2 separate regions of the Homo sapiens genome follow, and region 2 is linked to region 1. Evidence: promoter capture Hi-C in human tissues and cell types (Jung and others, 2019). All regions are on one chromosome and are shown on one strand. The core of a region is centred on a gene start or on the middle of the fragment in contact, and the rest is flanking DNA. Distances in the headings are between cores, read along the strand shown.

The links. Contacts are between HindIII fragments. The study calls those that stand out against the background at their distance.
Region 2: a contact is called between a fragment that was not itself captured here and the fragment with the promoter of RASL10A in region 1, in 2 of the 25 tissues and cell types used here (spleen and thymus).

The regions. Positions count from the first base shown.
Region 1 is chr22:29,313,902-29,317,933 of GRCh38, reverse strand. It overlaps RASL10A (RAS like family 10 member A), which reads left to right and starts at 2,237. Exons shown (of 3, transcript NM_006477.5): 1 at 2,237-2,906; 2 at 3,947-4,032. The coding sequence starts at 2,688. RefSeq lists enhancers at 2,241-3,045, 3,046-3,850. The HindIII fragment of the contact is 15,140 bases long and covers 1-4,032 here.
Region 2 is chr22:29,687,501-29,691,532 of GRCh38, reverse strand. All of the region lies in intron 15 of NF2 (NF2, moesin-ezrin-radixin like (MERLIN) tumor suppressor), which reads right to left. Among named protein-coding and RNA genes, the nearest start is that of CABP7-DT, 30 kb to the left of the region's middle. RefSeq lists enhancers at 1-304, 1,588-2,088, 2,308-2,807, 2,808-3,309 and a silencer at 1,504-1,735. The HindIII fragment of the contact is 6,822 bases long and covers 1-4,032 here.

The sequences.
Region 1 (4,032 bases), core at 988-3,487:
CGGGTGGATCACCTGAGGTCAGCAGTTCGAGACCAGCCTGACCAATATGGTGAAACCCCGTCTCTACTAAAAAACACAAAAATTAGCCGGGCATGGTGGCATGTGCCTGTAGTCCCAGCTACTCTAGAGGCTGAGACAGGAGAATTGCTTGAACCCAGGAGGTGGAGGTTGCAGTGAGCCAAGATCGCACCACTGCACTCCAGCCTGGGTGACAGACCGAGACTCCATCTCAAAACAAACAAACAAAAGACCGTCCTGGTGTCAGCTTTTCAGACTTCTGGGTTTTGTTGTTGTGTTGCTGAGTGCCTTGTTATTTACTCCTTGCCTTGTTCCCCGAAGGAATTGAAGCAGCTCACAAAACCCAGAAGCCTGAAAAGTCAAAAACCCAGAAGTTTGGCCAGATGTGGTGGCTCACGCCTGTAATCCTCGCACTTTTGGAGGCTGAGGAGGGAGGATTGCTTAAGCCAGGAGTTCAAGACCAGCCTGGGCAACATAGTGAGATTCCACCTCTACAAAAAATAAAAATAAATCAGCTGGATGTCGTAGTACACACCTGCAGTCCCAGCTATTTGAGAGACTGAGGCAAGGAGGATCACTTGAACCCAGGAGGTTGAGGATGCAGTGAGCTAAGATCACACCACTGCACTCCAGCTTGGGTGACAGAGCAAGACCTTGTCTCAAACAACAAAACCCAGAAGTCTGAAAAGTTACAACGTGAAAGAGGACATCAAGTGAAGGGAAAAATCATGGTAGGAAAGAAAGATGAAGCCAGCAGTCCCCACTCACTGAGCTAGAAGACCTGGAACACTAGACAGAGGTGGTTCTGAGCTTCCTAGTGGCTGAGGAGAGGAGTGAAAGCGGACCCCAGCCCCCGATCTAGCATGGGAGGATGAAAGCACAGCCATTGTTCTGGAGACACTTTCTGGTTGTCATTATACAGGCTCCCTGGAGGATGTGCCTCCTCCCCCTTCAGGATTTAGCTCCTCTACTTCCCCTGGGCTGGTGTGGGCACATTGTCTGTGCTTTGACAGTCCCTAGATCCCATGTGTTCTAGAACCTTCTCTCCCAAAGCAGAACTTTTTTTTTTTTTCCTGTTTTCTGTTTTTTAAATCTATCTCAGCCTCCTGACAAGCAATAAGATTTGGAATATTTGTTGAGGGGATAAATAAATGAACTCCTTAGTCAGTGCAGAGATCTGTGCATTGCGGCCATTTCTTGAGCATTGCCGCCATTTCTTGAGCATTGCCATGTGCAGGTCAGAGACGTGGGAGCCCCCACACAGCGGGGAGGAGAGCAGAGGCGGAGGATGGGGGGGCTGGGCTAACCCAGGCTTTCCAAGCTGTGATGGGGCAGGAGCTTCTCCACTAGCTCGAGGGAGGGGGAACTTGGGCTCTGGGCGCCTGTTTTGGAGGTTGCATCCCTTTGAGGGGCGCTACGGGTTGCAACTCACGCAGGAAAGGTGACCTTAGTAGTGATGGAGGTGGAGTGGGCCAATTTCTGGATCTTTATTTAGTCACCTCCAGCCTTGCTGGGACAGGGATCTGGGGCTAAGCTGCTGTGGTCTCGGCACCCTCTGTCCCCACTTCCCCTCGAGGACGGCTGTTTGAATATTGTCTAGTGTGGGCCATTTACCCCCGTGGGCAGGAGGAAGGTAGGAGGGACTTCAAAGGAGACTTCAAGGGCCCCCCCACTGCCCTTCTAACCTTGCAGATTCCCCTCTCGGGCCTGTTTCCTCTTCTCTCAACCAGCGATGCCAGGCTGAGGCTGTAGGTTCGAGAATCACGTAGGTAATGGGCCTGGCACATAGTAGGCTCTCAAGAAAAGGTTGGAGCCTCTTGAGGAGTCTGCCTGTGATGGATGCGGAGCGCAGACCCAGCGCAGTGCGGCGATTCGCCCAAGGTCACACAGCCGCCCCCCCCAATTCGGACCCCGGGCGGCCTGACTCCGGGGGCCGGGGCTTGTCGGGAGCCAGCGTGGGGGCGAGCAGTGTTTGGAAGAGCGGCCGCGGCAGTGGGTGGGAAGGGGCTTCTATTTTGGAGCGGGTGAGAGGAGCGGGACACGCGGAGGAGGTAAGGAAGGGGTAGGCCCTCTCCGGGATCTCTGTCCCCCAGTCACCTTCCTGCGACCCTTCCTGGGAGGGGCGTCCTGGGCGGTGGGGGAAGGTGGGAGGGGCGGGCGGTTACCTCATCGCCGCCTCCGGGAGGCCCCGCTCGCTCGCGCCGGCGGCTGGGGCGGCGACTCCAGGCGCGGAAGCGAGAGAAGGATAGAGGCACAGAGGCTCCGGGAGGCAGCGCTGCCCCCCGCGCCCCGCACCGCTGCGGGACCCGCGCCGCGAGAGGGGCGGACTTCGGCGCCTCGCGCGTCCGCCGGCGCCTGGGTTGGCGCTGCGGGGCGGAGGCGGTGTCTGAGCGCCGCTCCGGCTCTGCTCTCTCTCGAGCTTCGGCACCCGCCCGAGCCGCTCGCGCGCCCGCCACCTGTCTGCCCACTCGGCTGTCTGTCTGCCCTCCCGCCGCCAGCTCCTGCCTCGGGCCTGCCCTCTCCGGTCTCGGTGCTCCGAGGGGCGACGAGAAGCGCGACGGGGCCGTGGCGCACCGGGCAGGGCGCGCGGGGCGCACGGCCTGGGGGCGCACGGTGCGGCGCCGGCCCATGAGGCTTTCCAGCGCGGGGAGCGACAGCGCCGGCCGGCCATGGGGGGTAGCCTGCGGGTGGCCGTTCTAGGCGCCCCGGGCGTGGGCAAGACGGCCATCATCCGCCAGTTCCTGTTCGGTGACTACCCCGAGCGCCACCGGCCCACGGACGGGCCGCGCCTCTACCGACCCGCGGTGCTGCTCGACGGCGCCGTCTACGACTTGAGCATCCGCGACGGCGACGTCGCTGGCCCCGGCTCGAGCCCCGGGGGTCCGGAGGTAGCGGCTCGAGGAGCGGGCAGGGGCGTGTGACAGTGTGAGGGGTGTGCGTGCTCGGTGCACACGTGCGTGTCCGCGTGGAGGCCTCGGGCGCCTGGCTGTGCTCCGGGATGGAGGGATGTGTGTGCGTCCTGGGATACTTGCGTTTCAGCCCTTCCCGCCGACCTGGAGACGCCCAAGCCCAGGCTGGAGGCCGGGCGATTTTGCCCAGGGGCGTTCCCTTGCTCCTGTGAGCGCCTCCACCTTTGCCTGCCTCGGCTGGGGGTGTGGAGCAGCTCTTGGTGGTGCATAACGGTGCCTTCCCGAGAGTGTGGCGTTTTGTGTTTGGGGCCTTGAGCAGAGCTACAATGGGAGAGACTGGGGTCAGGAGCAGGGGTGTACTTTCTACGGGGGCTGGTGGAGGGGTTCATTCTCTGCCCTATCATTTTTGTCCCCTGGAGCGAAGACTCGTTTAGTAATTTGTGCAAAGTAAAGGACAGACCTCCGACCCTAGAGCAGTGAAGAGGAAAGAGCAGGCAGGATTAAGCAGGGCTTCCTGGAGGGAGTGGCATTTGAGCTGAACCTGGAAGACCGAGTGAAGTTCTGAGTAAAGGAAGTGGCAAAAACATACCAGGTGGAAAGACCAGCAGGTGCTTACGCTACGGTCATAAACGGTTACAGCTGACAATCTGGGGGCGTGGTGGACCACGGGACTCGGGCCAAGGGCTTTGGAATTAGTCTTAGAGGCCGTGGTAAGCACCGAGAGCATCTAGGGAGGAGAGCGGCCTGAGCCGAGTTGGGGAAAGCTGAAAAGAGGAAGATTCGGGGTAAACAGAGGGGAGACCAAGGATGAAGGAGGCTGGCTGACAGGCTCCAGGCACGATTTGGAAAATTTTACCCTGGTGGTCATGAGGAGACGGCCCGGAAAGCTTGGGGGAGGGGCACAGAGGTCTGTATGGGGGTGATGTTGGCCTGAGGATTAGCGTCCAGGCCCCTGCAGAGGGTTCGAGAGCGGAAGAGTGGAAAGGAGGCTTCCGCAAACCCTGGCCTCCTGTCCCCAGGAGTGGCCAGACGCTAAGGACTGGAGCTTGCAGGACACGGACGCCTTCGTGCTCGTCTACGACATCTGCAGCCCGGACAGTTTCGA
Region 2 (4,032 bases), core at 709-3,208, 370 kb before region 1:
TTTAAACACATGAAAACCAGCTAACAAGTTTCCTGGTTCCCCTGCGATGCTCTCATACCCTAAGGTGTGCAGGCCCATCAGTGTTAGGTACATCTTCCTGCTCAGCAACCGGCCTGGGTCCCTCTACACTGCCCAGCAACACCTGCTTGCTAGAGCCAGAAGAGGCCTCCCAAGAAGGCCTTCACCTTGTCCTATGTTGCACTGTGAGTTGAGCACTGAAGCCACTCTGGTGAGTCCCATTCCCACCCTGAATTCCAAACAAAAATGTCCATGCTCCCTTTGGCAATCCAGCAACAGCCCTCCCCTTGCCCAACCTTGCCTGCCTGGGGAGTGGAGTCCCCCCAGGAGGGCGGGGAATTCCTCGCATGCACAATGAGTATCTTGAAGGTTATCCAGGAAGAAGAGGTCTCCAAATTTCAGCAGGTAATGAAGCAGAAGCACCTCAGGGTGTACAACCAGGGTCTCGAGGACAGTGGCTGCACCAGTCTGGGACTTGCCAAGTCTGGTCAACTGCCTTTGAATCCTTCTGAAGACAAGTGAGCCAAGCTCTGGTGAACCTGACCAGTGACGTCTGTCATGCACTGTCCTTCAAAACTTTCACTGAATCTAGACAAGGTCCAACCATGGGAGTCCCGCAGCCAGGCCCAGTTCCTTGGGCAGGCTATAAACCCAAGGGCCCTGCTCAGAGTCTCCAACCCAAAGCGCTCCTGCCAGTTCCCTGAAGATGCCTACAAGAACATGAAGCCTCCGCACCAGGCATGGGCTGACCCGCTGCTCTCCTCCAGCTGTCTCTTCACATCTGATTAGAATCAGCCGTGTGAATAACACAGGAGGAATTAAGTTCTCTCTCGACTGAACCGGCTGCTCAAGTCTGTCACTAATCCAATTCCATTCTGAGGAGACGAACTTCCTTTTCTTTCTCTGGGGCAGATCTATGAGGCTTTATTGCTATCTGACTGTTCATCTTCACATCCCCCCTCTGATCCACTTGTTGGGTCCTGGCTTTTACTTCCTGCCCAACATCGAGACTCAGCCCCGGCAGGGTCCCTTTTCCCCTGCCCACTTGTCCATAAAACTGCCAGCTGTTTGTGACAGCCAGCAGGCTGTGAGACGGCAGGGGAGAACTTAGGAGAGTTCCATTCTGGCAGAGCTGGGCCTCCTTACGCTCCCCAAATTGTGTGTGGTGTGACAAAAACAGACACATCCACCCAATCTAAACAAGTTCAGATTCAGGAGACACATCTGTCTACTTAAAAAGACAGAAGAGGCTGGCTAAAAGAACCTGGTACCCAGCCGGCACTCTCTAACCCAGGCATGCAATCTGCATCTTCAACTGTTCCTCCTCACTGCTACCTGAGGATTTTGGGTGGCCCATTAGGGTACTTCTGAGAAATGGCCCCAGGGTCTGGAGAAAGCAAGCCTGGAAGGCACCTGTGACAAACATTCTCCTGCTGCCCTGCCAGCAGCAGACGGCTTCCAGCTACAAAGCCTCCGCCAGCATCGTTCCTGAGTGCCCCCTGCTGGAAAACCACAGCATGAGGCGCACGGCCAACTCTCCTTCCAGCTCTCCTCTAAAAGCCCTTTTGGGGGATCGTTTCCCAAAGTGATGGGAGGGTAACTAAATGTATTCCGGCACGGAGCCTGCAGCAGCAAGGCTGCTTGATTAAGAATGAATTACACTTTCATCAGCACAGACAGAAAATTGATTCACAAGGCTGCATTGTGATCATCTTGTTCCTAAAGCAAGGGAAGGTTGGGGGAGACACAGAGCTACTTTGGCTATCAGTGGTGAGAGAAAGGAAGCTGTACAATTAAGCTGGGGAACAAAACTAATCAGAGCACCAGGATTCCTTCAACTAGTCTCTGGGGGCCTTGCCTCAATCCACTCATCCCAGGGGAGGAGAAAAGAAGGTAGGAGGGGACCATCTCATTCATTTTAAACAATAAGACTCACAGTACTGAACCCATTTTAGATACTAACCTAATAACTCCAGGCGCTGGGTCTCTGCTTGTCCCATAAAAATGCAGTGGAATTGAAATGTGAGCCCTAAAATCATGTTACACTTCCTCTCCACTACTACATATTGAAAACGAAGGAGCGGGGGAGGGTGTAGACACAAAAGGACGTGCAGATCCTCTGGCACCGGATCCACAGGGAGAAAGCAGACTCAGAGCAGAAAGGTGACAGCTGAATCCAGCAGCAGCAAATTCCAAAAGAATCTTTGGTTTGGGGTGTGGGAAACCTTCCCCCTTCCAAATAAGCAAAGAGGAAGGGCCAGTAAAGGGGGATGGCTGTACTAAGTGGCCAGATCAAGCTTTTCTTTACTTTCTCTTTTTTTTTTTTTTTTTTTTTTTGAGACGGAGTCTCACTCCGTTGCCAGGCTGAACTGCAGTGGCGCGATCTCCGCTCACTGCAGCCTCTGCCTCCTGGGTTTAAGTGATTCTCCTGCCTCAGCCTCCTGAGTAGCTGGAACTACAGGCGCATGCCACCACGCCCAGCTAATTTTTGTATTTTTAGTAGAGACAGGGTTTCACCATGTTGGCCAGGATGGTCTCAATCTCTTGACTTCGTGATCCGCCTGCCTCGGCCTCCCAAAGTGCTGGGATTACAGGCATAAGCCACCGCGTCCGGCCCAGATCAAGCTTTTCTGCAGTCTGGCTAGGGACAGCTGCACCCAAATGCCATATGGTGATGTGCACAGTGGGAGCACTATCCACACACTTATCCTACACAGAGGTGGAACGAAAGGCCAAGTCCACCCCAATGAACAAATCCAATTTGTTATTAGCGACTTTATCTGCTCTCAAGAGAAATCTGCCACTGAATACCCAAGGGGCCCTTTTTGTGTATTAATCCCTGAGGGACCCAAAGCAGCAAAAGCTGCCTGAAAACCTGTCTACCTGCTTTGCAGGCTGCCCTGTGGCACTGGCCGGCGGGGCCCTCCGCTGCTCCTCTGTTCCTTCCCCTGACAAATGGCCTAATGGGCCTGATTCACCTCACTGGGCAGGTGGCGGCTATCTACTGAGTGGTCTGAGCAAGAGCCTTAGGAAAAAGGTCCAGATAGACTGATGTCATTTTAAAATTGCCAACATCAAAAGAGAAATCACAGCAAGGATCATGAGAACAGAACCTCGGGCTCGCAGAACGAGTTTGCATCTGGCTCTTCCCTCCCACTGTTGCAGCAACGAATCCGGTGCCGAGGAGAGCTGCACTGAAACACATCTTCAGTGCCGAGGGGCCGAACAGGGTGTTTTACTGCCTCAAATAAGGCCTGGTAATATCCTCAGGCATCTCCAAATGGTGGTAAAGTACCTAGGCAGGCAAGGCAGGTTTGTAGGCTCTTCAACACCTCCCAAAGAACAACTGCTTGACCAGGTAAAGTCTCTTAACCAAAAACAGGATTGGCTTGTTGACTTTTAGAAGAGGCCGATACAGTCTTCTATCTAGAGCTACCAGAAACAAGCAAGAAAACTAAGCTCTCAACAGTTACGAGACACCAGGAACTCAGTGTGTGAGAGTGGTAGGAGTGGCCTTCAGGGATGAGCCCAAGGTGTCCCATCCGGGAGGAGCACTAAGAGCAGCCTGCAGTTCCTAATGCCTTCCCTGGGCTTCCACAGAGCCAGGAGGCGGAGAGGAAGAGTTCAGATCGCCACTGCAATTTCTTCCCAGTGTGCTATGCCCACATCTGGTGCTGCTACTGCTCCCTGTTAATCCTTGCTCCCCACCCCACTCCCCACTCCTTTTTCTTTCCTTCCCCCTCTCACCCCTGCCTTGCTCTAGCAGGGAAGGTTCAGGGCTGGGGAGCCAGTATGCTACCTTTTATGTCAAGGCCAAGATGCTCTACCATACAACGCCCAGTTCCTAAAGCAAGCAGAGCCATTCAGCCCACTGGGGTCATAAGGAGGGTTGGCTATATTAACTACCTATTAAACTTAAGTAATTTAGGAGCCATCTTCAGGGCTGGCAATGCAGACCAGAGGTCGCCAGGGAGGCTCTGGCCACTTGTTTTAATTGTGGGAGACACCTTTCCC